Regions from separate parts of the Homo sapiens genome. Here regions 2 and 3 are each linked to region 1. Evidence: promoter capture Hi-C in 16 types of primary human blood cells and fetal thymus (Javierre and others, 2016). All regions are on one chromosome and are shown on one strand. Each heading gives the region's core, a stretch centred on a gene start or on the middle of the fragment in contact. The rest is flanking DNA. Distances are from core to core; before and after follow the strand shown.

Region 1 (3,905 bases), core at 1-2,500:
CGGCGATCGGGCTTAAGTTACATTGATTCAGCTGCTAGGAGACCCCTCGCCTACCAAATGCCTCCCTTTTATTTTTCCATTCAACGTGGTAGCAAGAGCCCTGCTCGTTCCCTATGGAGAAATAGTAGTGGTGGTTTTCATTTTTCTCCTAAGCGACTCATCCTACAAAGTACCAAGTCCTTTCTTTCCAACTCACAACCCCAGTAGAAGGAAGGGCCCCTTGGGACGCCGGTGCCTCCTCCTAGCTCCCTCTCCTCTTCCAAGGTTCCTGGTGTCACTGGCACCCCGCAGCCTCCGCCTCCCAGCAGCGATCCCACCAGGACCCTTGGGTCCTCAAGCAGTGCCCCAAATAAGATTCGAGTTCCTACTCCCATGGATCTGACCACCGGCCCCCTTCTCAGCAAATCCCTCCTCCAGAATAGAAGTCTGGGTCCGTTCCACGCGGGTAAAACTATGGCAGCAGGGATGCCTTTCCTCTCCCCATTCATCCCCACCAAATGAGTCGCCAGGGCTCTTCCACTTGCTCTAACTCCAGTTCCCCTCCCCGGGCCTGACTTCCGCGTCCCGCTAGCAACAGTCCCCCTTGATTTGGTCCAAGGTCTCGGCTCTGCCGCCCCTAAAACCGTCCGTAAGGTCCAGCCGCCCGTCGGGCTTCTCCGCTGCCCTCCAAGTTTCTCCCAACTACTTGTTCCAGACCGCGTTACCTGCAACCTGCTCCGGGCTGGCGCCATACTCGGCGTCCCGGCGCTTCTCACAAGTGCCCTCGCCCATGACCAGCGCCTGCAGGGGCAGCTCGGAGCCCGGGTGGGGATAGCAGCGCAGCCCCTGGCCGCAGCGCGGGGTGTAGACGCCGCACGCCTCGCCCTCCAGCCGGGCGCACACCGAGCAGCAGCCGCAGCCCGGCTCCCGGACGAGCTCCGCGCATGGCATGCGGGCGCCTCCGGCCACTGCGGCCACCGCGGCGGGCGGCGCAACCGGCGGGGGCCCGCAGGCGGCCAGGCGCTCGGGTGTGCAGGGCGGGCAGCGGAACAGCACCTCCGCGCGCGCCCCGCCGCCGCCGCCACTCGCGCCCAGTAGCAGCAGCAGCAGCGGCAGCAGCGGCGGCGGCGGCAGCGGCAGCGCGGGGCAGCCCACTCTCGGCAGCATGCTGGCGGTCGGCAGCGCGGCGCGGCGGGCGAGCGAGCGAGCGGGCGGGCGGGCAGGTGGCACGGCCCTGCGAGCGCGGGAGCCGCCTCCTCCGCTTCTTCCTCCTCCCTCGCCGCCGCAGCCGGGTCCTAAAGGGCCGGCTTCTCCCCGCCCCCTGCCTTCTCCCCTCCCCCTTTTGGAGACCACTCCCTTCCCCCCCGACACTCCCTCGCGCCGGCAAGTGAGTGCGCGCACGCCCGCTCGCCCACCTCCGCGTTGGCTGCGGGCTCTGGGGGTTCCCTGCTCTTCCCGGGCCCCGTCCCTCCGCACTCTTCTGGCCTGACTATGACTCCTGAAGGAGAATACGGATAACTCGCGGGTTTGGGTAGGACCGGCGTGGCGGTGGAGAAGAGCGCGTGCTTTTGTCTGCTCTCAGTTCAGTTCGCGAGGACTTCGTTTGCGCGCTTCCCCTGTGGCCGGCACTGGGCTAACCGCTGGGGAACACAAAAGACATAAGGCTCCGTTTTGACCTTCAAGTAGATTTCAGTCGGCTCATACCAACTCCTTCCATCCTGGGGTATCACCCACCACTGACACGTGGCTTGGAACAATGACTTCTTGTTGGGTGGGTCCTGCGGAGTTTCAGACCCGTCTAGACCAAGCTAGACCCAAACAGCCCCGAATGGTCTTAGTGACTATTGCAGTTTTCCAAACCTGGGAGCTCGTGACTACAACCTATGAGAACCCTAAGTGCCCCGCAAAACCTGCCCCCTTCGTCTGCAGACCCCCTCCCTTCTCCGCCCGCTAAAATAATCCCTTAGCACCCTGGGCCCCCACCTACAAATCTCGAGGCACTTGTTGCAGGACAGATCCCAGAACACTCAGTTGCAGGGGTCTTGGAGAGGTCAGATCAGCTCTCCAGGTGTGACAGACCCGCTCTGGGGTAAGGCCATTTATGGCTGTCTTCAATAATGCAGATGGACAAGCATGACCTCCTTTCATTGTTCTGTTTGATTTACTGAGTCATCTACCCAAGCTGCCCCCAACCCCCATCATTCCAGGCTGGACTCAGCCATAATCAACCATCTCCTGGGGTGTGACCCTAACAAAGACCCCTGTCAGAGAGATTCCTTGGGTGACAGGTGGACCATTAAGCTGCCTCCACCGCAGGTTTCATCTCCCTATACCTCAGCGCCCCTCTTCCCCCCAGACCCCTCCACTCTGGCTCTTTCTGACTTCAAGGCTCAGAGCCTGTTTGATTCAGTTCAACAGCTAGTTAACCCAATGGCCACCTGGCTCTGAAGGTGACCTAGATGCCTCCAGGAAGGCAAGTACCTGGTCTTAAGACGCCAAGCTGGGAAGAGTTATCGGGAAAGACTTTGGTAAGATAAAAAATAAATAAATAAATGTTTATCAGAGGCTTTGAAGAAAAGAAATATTTTGGTAGAGAGGTGATGTGGTGGTTGAGGAAAGGGGAGTTTCTTGGGTGAGTCGGAGCTGAAATTGAAGCTTGTAATTCTACCAGAGGAAATGGGCGGTTAGCAAGGGCACAGGCAGAGGGACCACCTGAAGCAAAAACACAGAAATGGGGCCGGGCGCGGTGGCTCACACCTGTAATTCCAGCACTTTGGGAGGCCGAGGCAGGTGGATCACCTGAGATCAGGAGTTCAAGACCAGCCTGGCCAACCGTGGCCAACATGGTGAAATCCCATCTCTACTAAAAATACAAAAAATAGCCAGGCACGGTGATGCACGCCTGTAGTCCCAGCAACTTGGGAGGCTGAGGCAGGAGAATCGCTTGAACCCAGGAGGTGGAAGTTGCAGTGAGCCAAGATCGCACCACTGCACTCCAGCCTGGGTGACAGAGTAAGAATCAGTCTCAAAACACACACACACACACACACACACACACACAGAGAGAGAGAGAGAGAGAGAGAGAGAGAGAGAGAGAGAGAGAAATGGGAAAATGAGTTTGGGGATCAGAAAGTCCACTTCAGCCAGAGTGCAGGATGCTTGCAGAGAGCAGCAGGGGAGGCAGGAAATCCAGTTGACTGTGGCGCTTTGGCTTAATATGCTGGGCAGTAAGGATACAGCATCCATGTTTGAGCAGAGGAAGAGATGGACAGAGCTGGACTTCTGGAAATCATTAGCACTATGTAGAGTGCCGATCTGAAAAAAAAGTAAAAAAAAAAAAAAATCGTTAGCACTATGTAGGGTGCCGATCTGAAAAAAAAAAAAAAAAGAAGTAAAAAGCACTATGTACAGTGCCAATCTAAAAAAAATAAAAATAAGACACAGGAAGGATCATGGTCATTCCACCTTCATTCTCCCTGGTGTCTCCTGCCTGCTTTGTAACGTGTTTCTGTTGGTCCCACCCACTGAGCTCCTACAGAGTAGGCACAGGGTCTAGCACAACGCTGTCCAATAGAAATCTACTGCAAATCGCAAACGTGAGCACATGTGCAATTGTAAATTTCTAGTAGCCATATTAAAATATAGTAAAAAGAAATAGATGACATTTATTTTAATAATATTCTTAATTTGGCGGTATATCCAAAATACTATCATTTCAATGGGTAATCAACACTAAAATTAATGAGAGAGTTAACATTCCTTTTCTTATACTAAATCCTCAAGTTCTGATGTGTATGCTATACAGCACATTTCAGTTTGAAGTAGCCAAAATTCAAATGTTTGATAGCCATGTGTGGCTAGGTAGCTATCAAATTGGACAGCCCACAGGTCTAAATACTGCCTGGCACCAGGTAAGCACTCAATAA
Region 2 (4,129 bases), core at 740-3,239, 870 kb before region 1:
TGATTCAGAAAGACTAAGAATAAAGAGGTATTCCAGACAAATGGAAACCGTAAAATAAAGACACTCAAATCTAATCAACATAATTCATAAGGTAGACATTATAGATATATATGAAACCTCCACTCTTGCTAATATTGGGAATATACTCTCTTCTTAAGCACAAATAGAATGTTCACAGAAATTGACCTCATGTTGAGTAACTGTCTTCCTCTAGGCTGCTATAGCAGAATATCAGAGACTGGGTGGCTTAGAAACAACAAAAGTTTACTTCTCACAGTTTTAGAGACTAAGAAGTCTAAGATCAAGGTGCCAGCAGATTTGGTGTCTGTTGAAGACCTACCTCCTCATTCATAGACAACACCTTCTTGCTGTGTCCTCACATAGTGACAGGGACTAGCTAGCTCTCTGGGGTCTCTTTTATAAGGGCACTAATCCCACTTATAAGGGTAGATATCTGATGGCCTGATCACCTCCCAAAGGCCCCACCTCCTAATGCCACCACCTTGGGAATTAGGATTTCAATTCAATGTGAATTTTAGGGGGACATAAGCATTCAGCCCATTGTAGTCACAAAGAAAGTTTTTGAGTGAGTTCCATGAAGTAGAAATTAATGAGAAAATTTAAAAACGTTCTTCTACTTGGAAATTAACATCTGTTAGATGACTATTGGGTGAAAAAGGATATACAAACTAAAATTGCAGAATTTCAAAAAACAATAATAGAATAAAAATATGCACATCTGATTTAATGAGAAATAAAGCAGTGATCTGAGGATAATCTGTGGGATTAAATATTTGAATCAATAAAAAATAATTACAATAAATAAATTTTATTCCCAACTTAAAAACCGAGAAAAATTACAAAGTAAATAAAAAGAAAGTATAAAGCAGGAAATAATAAGGATAAAAGAGGAAATTAATGTAATACAAAAGAGTAAAAAAAGAACTAATTAATGATTCGAAATGCTGGTTGATATGGTTTGGCTGTGTCCCCACCCAAATCTCATCTTGAATTGTAGTTCCCATAATCCCCTTGTGTTGTGGGAGGGACCTGGTGGAAGGTAATTGAATCATGGGGGCAGTTACCTCTATGCTGTTCTCATAGTAGTGAGTGAGTTCTCACGAGATCTGATGGTTGTATAAGTGGCTATTTTCTCCCTCTTCGTTCTGTACTTCTCCTTGCTGCCATCATGTGAAGAAGGATGTGTTTGCTTCCCCTTCCATCATGATTGTAAATTTCCTGAGGCCTCCCCAGCCCTGTGGAACTGTGAGTCAATGAAACCTCTTTTCATTTATAAATTACCCAGTCTCTGGTATGTCCTTATAGCACTATGAGAATGGACTAACACATGGGTTCTTTGGGGAAAAAAGGAAAAACAATATACTGATAACTAACCTAATCAAGAAAAAAAGGCAAAGAGCAAATATACAAAATAAGAAAAGACTAGAAGGAAATAATCATTATAAAAAGGAAAATAAATCACAGGTTGACTACTTTGCAAAACTCTATGTAAATACATTTGGAAACTATGAAATTGATTATACCATATGAAAATGTAATTTACCAAAACAGGTCCCATTTGATATAGAAAGCTTAAGCAGACCATTCTCCAGAGTAGAAAAAAAGTGAAGAAAGTTGTCAAAAATTATTCCACGTGGAAACACTGGACCAATATGGTTTCATAAGGGAATTCTATGAATCTTCAAAGATCACATAATCTCAAATAAATTGTTCCAAGGTATATAAAATGGAGAACTTCCAAATTCTCCATATAATGTTGCTATCAAATCCTAATAAAGATTAATATTAATGGTGATAACAATGATCATTATTATTGTAGGAATCTACAAGCCAATTACCTTTATAAATATAGATGCTAAAATTAGATTAAAAAACTAGCCAAAAGTTTCCAACACCATATTAATAAAACATCAATATCAAATTCCAGGAATGCAGACTTTAAATATGCAGAAATTAATTTATATAATTCACCTTATTAATAGATTTAAGGAGAAAAATCAAACAATTATCTCCATAGGTGCTGAAATGACCTTCAGTAATATTCAACACTCATTCCTGAAAAATGCACTCAATTAAATAGAAATAGAAAAAATGCACTCAAAAAGAAAGACTTCACGCAGTTTACATATGTGTACATGTGTATATGTGCTTTATGCATATCCGTGTACCTCTGTCCTAAACTTAGCATCTTATTTAATTGAGAAGCCTGGGAGGCATTCCTGCTAAGGCCAGAAATAAGATAAGGATGCTATCTTCCTTACTATTTAACATTGTCTTGTCGGTGTTAATCAATACAATTAGATATAGGTGTAAAAATTTGAGAAGCAAAAACTCTCTATGCAGATGAAATGATAGTAAAGCTTGAAAACCCATGAGAATTCATGATTAAACTAATTGAAATTAAATAAGGAATTCAATGAGACAGTAGGATATAAATTAACTTATAAAAATCAATAGCTTTCATATATACAAAAATAACCAATTACAAGATGTAATGGAAGAGAAAACATCCATTTATAATTACAACAAAAAGAGGTGAAACTTGAAAAGAAATATGCAAAATCTAAATGAGGAAAATTCTAAAACACTTCAGAAAGACATTCAAGTAGACTTGAGCAAGTAAAAAGGCATCTGTTCTTCTTGGAGAGAAACTACTCAACATCATACAGATGTCAGCTCTTCTCAAGTTAACATGTGAATTTAACTTAAATGCAAGAAAAATGTCAACAAGCTTTTGTTTTGTTTTGTTTTCTGGACCTAAACAAGTTGATTCTAAAATTATATAGAAAAGTGAACATGCAAGAATGGCTGGGAGACCCTACACAGGGGGGATGAGGGAAGCAATAAGGGGAGATTGGTCTTCTTGGATACTAAAACGTACTGTAACTGCTTGGTGGTTAACACAGTATGGTAGTGGCACATGAATGGAGAGATCAGAGGAACAAGATAGAAAGTCCAGAAATAGATTTAAGCTAGCATAAAAATGTATTATTTGATATAGATGGCATTTCAAATCATTGGGCAAGTATGGACTTCTGAATAAATGGTATTGGGACAGTTGGACAACTATTTGGATAAAGACAGAACTGGATCCACACCTTACACCATATACCATAATAAACTCTGAAGGCACGAGAAATCTAAATGGAAAAATACATAATAAACAATCCATACAAATACTAGAAGAAAACATGAATGAATATTTTGTAACTTGAATATAGGACAGGCTTTCTAAATGTGACTAAAGATCCATATACAATGAAAGAAAAGATTGAGGAGTTGTACTACATAAAATTAATAAAGAATTGTGTGGCTAAAAAAGCAAAAATATTTGCAACATGCATCAGAGATAAATGCCCTCTCCTTAATGTATAAAACATTTTTAAAAATTGAGAAAAAAGCAAAAATCGTGAATTTCCACAAAAATTATAGGAACTTGACCCTTAAACACATGAAAAGATGCTCAGCTGCACTCTTAAAACGGTTACACAGACCAAAACTATACTTTTATAACCGATTGAGTTGGCAAAAATTCACAAGTTTAACAACTCATTCTCCTGCTGAAGCTGTGGGAAAATAGGCTGCATTAGTGCGCCTCAGCTGCCATAACAGGATACCATAGACTGAGGGGCTTAAACAACACGCATTTATTTTCTCACAGTTCTGGAGGCTGGGAGGCCAAGAACAACTTATCTCCTTAAAGGTCCTCTCTCCAAATACAGTCACATTCTGAGGCACTGGGGGTTAGGGCTTGAACAGATGAATTTTCAGAGGACATAATTTGGCTCATAACACAGTCACATACATTGCCTTTGGAAGTTCAAGTGGTGTAATCAGCTTGGAGGGAGATACGGCAGAGTAACATTTATCTGCTGACTCTGCAACTGACTCCTATAACTTTATTCTGAAAACTTCCAAAACAAACAAACAAACAAACAAAACCAAAGTGAACAAAAGAAACATATGCACAGGGTTATTCATCAAATCATAATTTGTAGGAGTAAAATAACAAACAACCTGAATACCAATATATAAAATATTGGTTGAATAAACCCTGGCACATCCACACATTGGGGCAATTATTTAACTATAGAAAAGAATGATGAAG
Region 3 (4,193 bases), core at 1,506-4,005, 900 kb before region 1:
GAAAGTTCAATAATCTCTTTGAATTTTGACTTCTTCATAGGAAAATGGGGAGCTATAAACTCAAGAGAATATTTTTGACCATTAAAAAGGTAAAGGTGAAAATTGAATGGTAGTGAGCAGTGACCCTAAATAAATACAGCTGTTACTGCTTTCTGCTGTTAGGTAGTATTTAGATACACTGTGACATTGTTTCCAGTTTCTAGTTGTAGGAACTGTATAGATAAAGATTAGTGGCAAATCATCACTAATAAGTATGGTCATGTGCCACATAACGCTGTTTTGGTCAATGACAGACTGCATATAAGATGGTGGTCTTATAAGATTATAATACTGTATTTTTACTGCTTAGATATACAAATTGTTACCATTGTGTTATAGCTGTCTACAGTGTTTGCTATAGTACCATGCTGTACAGGTTTGTAGCCTCAGAGCAATAGACTATACCATATAGCCTAGGTGTGTCCTAAGCTATACCGTCTAGGTTTGTGTGAGTACACTCTATGATGTTCACACTATAACAAAATCACCCGACAACACACTTCTCAGAACGTTTATCCATCATTAAACAATGCATGGCTGTAGCTGAATTAGGATTCAAACCAAAATTTGTCTGACTCCTAAACCTTCCCTTTTCTCTCTGCCTTACTTGATAATACTAAGACTGAAGTTCTTAGGAGCCAGTAGACCTGAATCTTGAAAGCAGTTTGGAGGTGGACCAGTCAGAACAGAAACAAAAGTCTACAACTTGAGTCCTCCAGCTTATATTGGGCTTACTCAGTGATCAAGTTTCCTGGGCCAGTGTCAGGGGAAGTAATGTCAGAGTGTCTCCCCCTTCAAGATACTCAATGAGAGGACACAGGGACATATGTCCTGATTGCTTTAGACATCCAAATGCCCAAAGCAGGAGACCAGACAGTCTGGCATCTTGGCCTTGGCATACTCTTCTGTAGTTATGAGATAATGAGCATATTGCTCCTTGCACTAGAAAGATCGGATGTGATTTACTCGCTAGTGATTGCTCAAAATCCATGAACCTTCAACTCTCATCTTTTCAGCCTCACAAGAATTCCCAGCTGCTTGTGTATCTGTGTCTCATTTCCCTACAGATGCAATATGGGAAAGGAGGACTACAAGGTTAACTTTAGAATAGCCACTGGGGAACTACCAGATATAGGAAGAGGAAGCAGTAATACAAGGGTTTTGTGAAAACAATTTTGGTGTCCTTGCCGGGCTCGTTCTAGGACACCTCATACCCAGAGGGAGCAATCAAGTAATGTCCTATGGGAGAGGATTTTGGGAGGATTACATACCAGTGACTGTTACCCAGAAACTCATGAGACTGGCTTCTGTGACATAAAAAGCATGATGTCTGCCCAAAGTTAAGAGTTTCTATGATCTGTTTGGGGTTTGGGGATGCTACAAGAGGTTTTTATAGCAGGCTGGTGGTTAAATTTGGAGAGACTCTAAGCAACTCAGCAGCCAGGATCCCAGGGTTCCTGTAAACAGCAGAGTTGTGATGTCCAGTTGAAACCATGCACGCAAAGAGCTTAGCAAAGGGTCAGCCATATAAAAGTGTTCAATAAGTGGAAAGAGGAGGGAGATGTGTAAATTTTTCAGAAGGCAGGGCATTAATTTGAGCTTGTAGTGACCTGAGGCTGTTGTATTCCTGTATTAGTCCATTTTCATGCTGCTGATAAAGACATACCCAAGACTGGGTAATTTATAAAGAAAAAGAGGTTTATTGAACTCACAGTTCCATGTGAGGCTGGGGAGGCCTCACAATCATGGCAGAGGGCAAAAGGCATGTCTTACATGGCAGCAGGCAAAGACAGAATGAGAGCTTGTGCAGGGAAACTCCCCCTTATGAAACCATCAGACCTCCTGAGACTTATTCACTGTCATGAGAACAGCACAGGAAAGACCTGCCCCCATGGTTCAATTACCTTCCACCAGGTCCCTCCCATGACATTTGAGAACTGTGGGAGCTACAGTTCAAGAAGAGACTTGGGTGGGGACACAGCCAAACCATATCAATTTCTGTCTGCCCTATTCACATCTTTTAGAAAAGTTTAATGAGCCCAGTTTACTGATTAGGTTATGTGGAAATGGCTAAGGTCCTTTTGGGGTAGACTGGATCTGTTCAAGGGAAGTAAAGAAAGAGTGGAAGGTGGTGTTAATAATAACAATGTGATTTCATAATGCCATTCTTCAATGTGTAATTGATTGAACACCTAGAGTGTATTAGGAACATTATAAACAATCACATATAATCTCCAACATTTCATAGTCTGCTCACACTGAATAAATGAAGAAATCCAATCTCAAACAGGCTATGCAACCTGTCCATGAGAGAGGAAGACCTGGACCTCTGATCCTAACCTGTCTGATTCAGAAGCCCAGGTGAGGCTAGTACAGCAAGGGAGAAGGCTATGAAGGGGGTGGGGAGCAGGAGGCATGGCAGGCACTTTGGTCCTTGCTATAAGCTTTGGCATGCAAAGAGCTTTTGCAAAGCAGCACTAGAAATCACCCAAAGGAAGCCATTTGTAAGGTTTTGTGTGGACCAGGGCTATTGGTGTATCACCTTACTCCTTTTCCAGTCAACAATTCTTAAATCACTTTGTTCATGTCTCTCATTCAGATTGGGCTGCTATGAAGAGGACAGACAGGGCAGGAAAACATAAAATGACTGGATAGAAAATTAATAATTTAGGCTTTTTTTCAAAGAGAAGATAGAGGAGATGAACTGTTTTAGATAACCTAACACATCTAAAAAAATATGCTTAGGTGCTTGAGTTTATTTTAACCACAGCATATTTCACAGGGCTCTCACAGCTGATGTAGTAGCAGGGAATAACTTAGCAGCCCTAGAACAAAGTTATGCAGTGTGGTGGGGGAGTTTCTCTATTTCCTTGTTTTTAATTCCTGAAGAATCAAACCTTCTGTGTAGGCTGCCTGATATAGGCCATGGTCTTGTTAATGTCTCCTTAATTAACAAAGGGATTTTTATTTATCCAGTGCAAAGCTTTTCTTACCTCCTTTCCCTATCCCCCAAACCAGCCATGCAAGTCAGCACGTACTGAGACCTCAAAGAAATCCAACAGTGGACTTAAAAGAATCCATGCAGCCAGCTGAAGAGGAGTTTAATAAGCTTGGCCTCTCTTTTTCTTCTTCTTGTATTCAGCTTTTACAAGACTCTCAATATGTTGGCTGCAGGAAAATTCTGGGGCTCTGAGAGGTCCAGGAGATGGAGGGCAGTCGGGGAGCTGGAGATGGTAAGGGGTGTATTGCGAAGGTGACTAGAAGTGTGGCTTGAACCACAGCCAGGGATTGGACAATTCAGAATTGCCACAGTCTCATGCTCATGGAAAAAACTTGGCAAAGTATAGCCAGAAACGTAGGCCTAAGTTTTCAGCCCCTAGGACTTCAAACTGCCTATGTTTCCTTCCCCTAAAAGCCTCAGGCTAGCTTTGGTCTGTTTTTCAGAGAGTCACAGGCTGGTCAGGTGGAAGTGGACTTTGACCTGTAGGCTATCTGCAGGCTGAGTCAGAAGCCCAGGTGAAGGATGGTAGAGCAAGGGAGAAGGGTATGAAGGGGGTGGGTGGGAGTGGGGCATGGCAGGTGCTTTGGTTCTTGCTATAAACTTTGGTATGCAAGGAGCTTCAGCAAAGCAGCACTAGAAATTACCCAAAGGGAGCCATTTTTAAAGTCTTGTGGGGACCAGGGCTATGGCTCTCTGAATAGTGATGAAGGCCTTTTAGGTTGTCAACCTCTTGGGAGTAGCCCTACTCCTGGCAGACAGCACTGAAGCTGGCAGGAGAATCTATGTTGTAATTGGCGGCCTCCATGTATTCCAGAGAGGGAGGAGGGCCCACATTCTCCAGAGAGATAGTGAGATGAGGGAGGTGCCAGGTTTTCTGTGATCTTTGACTCTCAGCTGAATTACTGGGGAGAGAACCAGCTATAAAGACCATAAAATTGCTTTGGTAATCCCCTCTGAGAGCTATCTATTAGAAAAAAAAAAAGGGAGAAAAGATGATGGCAAAGTAAGAAATGATTCCCAGGGATCCCTGGGCCCCTGTGTTTGAGAATCTTTTCTAAAGGCCTCCTTTACCACCCCTGGTTAAGTCATTAAAACATAGAGGGAGGAAATCCAGAGCTTCCTGGCTATCAGCATGGTGAGACATCAGACTGCC

Evidence for each region. The method cuts DNA at HindIII sites, captures the fragments that hold promoters and counts their contacts. A CHiCAGO score of 5 or more calls a contact.
Region 2: a fragment that was not itself captured here is called in contact with the fragment with the promoter of IGFBP2 in region 1 in 1 of 17 cell types (fetal thymus); the score reaches 5.7 in fetal thymus.
Region 3: a fragment that was not itself captured here is called in contact with the fragment with the promoter of IGFBP2 in region 1 in 1 of 17 cell types (erythroblasts); the score reaches 5.8 in erythroblasts.

Annotation. Positions count from the first base shown.
Region 1 is chr2:216,630,765-216,634,669 of GRCh38, reverse strand. IGFBP2 (insulin like growth factor binding protein 2) reads right to left here and starts at 1,250. Exons shown (of 4, transcript NM_000597.3): 1 at 705-1,250. The coding sequence starts at 1,146. The HindIII fragment of the contact is 7,523 bases long and covers 1-2,636 here.
Region 2 is chr2:217,505,264-217,509,392 of GRCh38, reverse strand. All of the region lies in intron 2 of DIRC3 (disrupted in renal carcinoma 3), which reads left to right. Among named protein-coding and RNA genes, the nearest start is that of DIRC3-AS1, 220 kb to the right of the region's middle. The HindIII fragment of the contact is 789 bases long and covers 1,595-2,383 here.
Region 3 is chr2:217,530,228-217,534,420 of GRCh38, reverse strand. The region is part of intron 2 of DIRC3 (disrupted in renal carcinoma 3); the gene reads left to right. Among named protein-coding and RNA genes, the nearest start is that of DIRC3-AS1, 250 kb to the right of the region's middle. The HindIII fragment of the contact is 539 bases long and covers 2,486-3,024 here.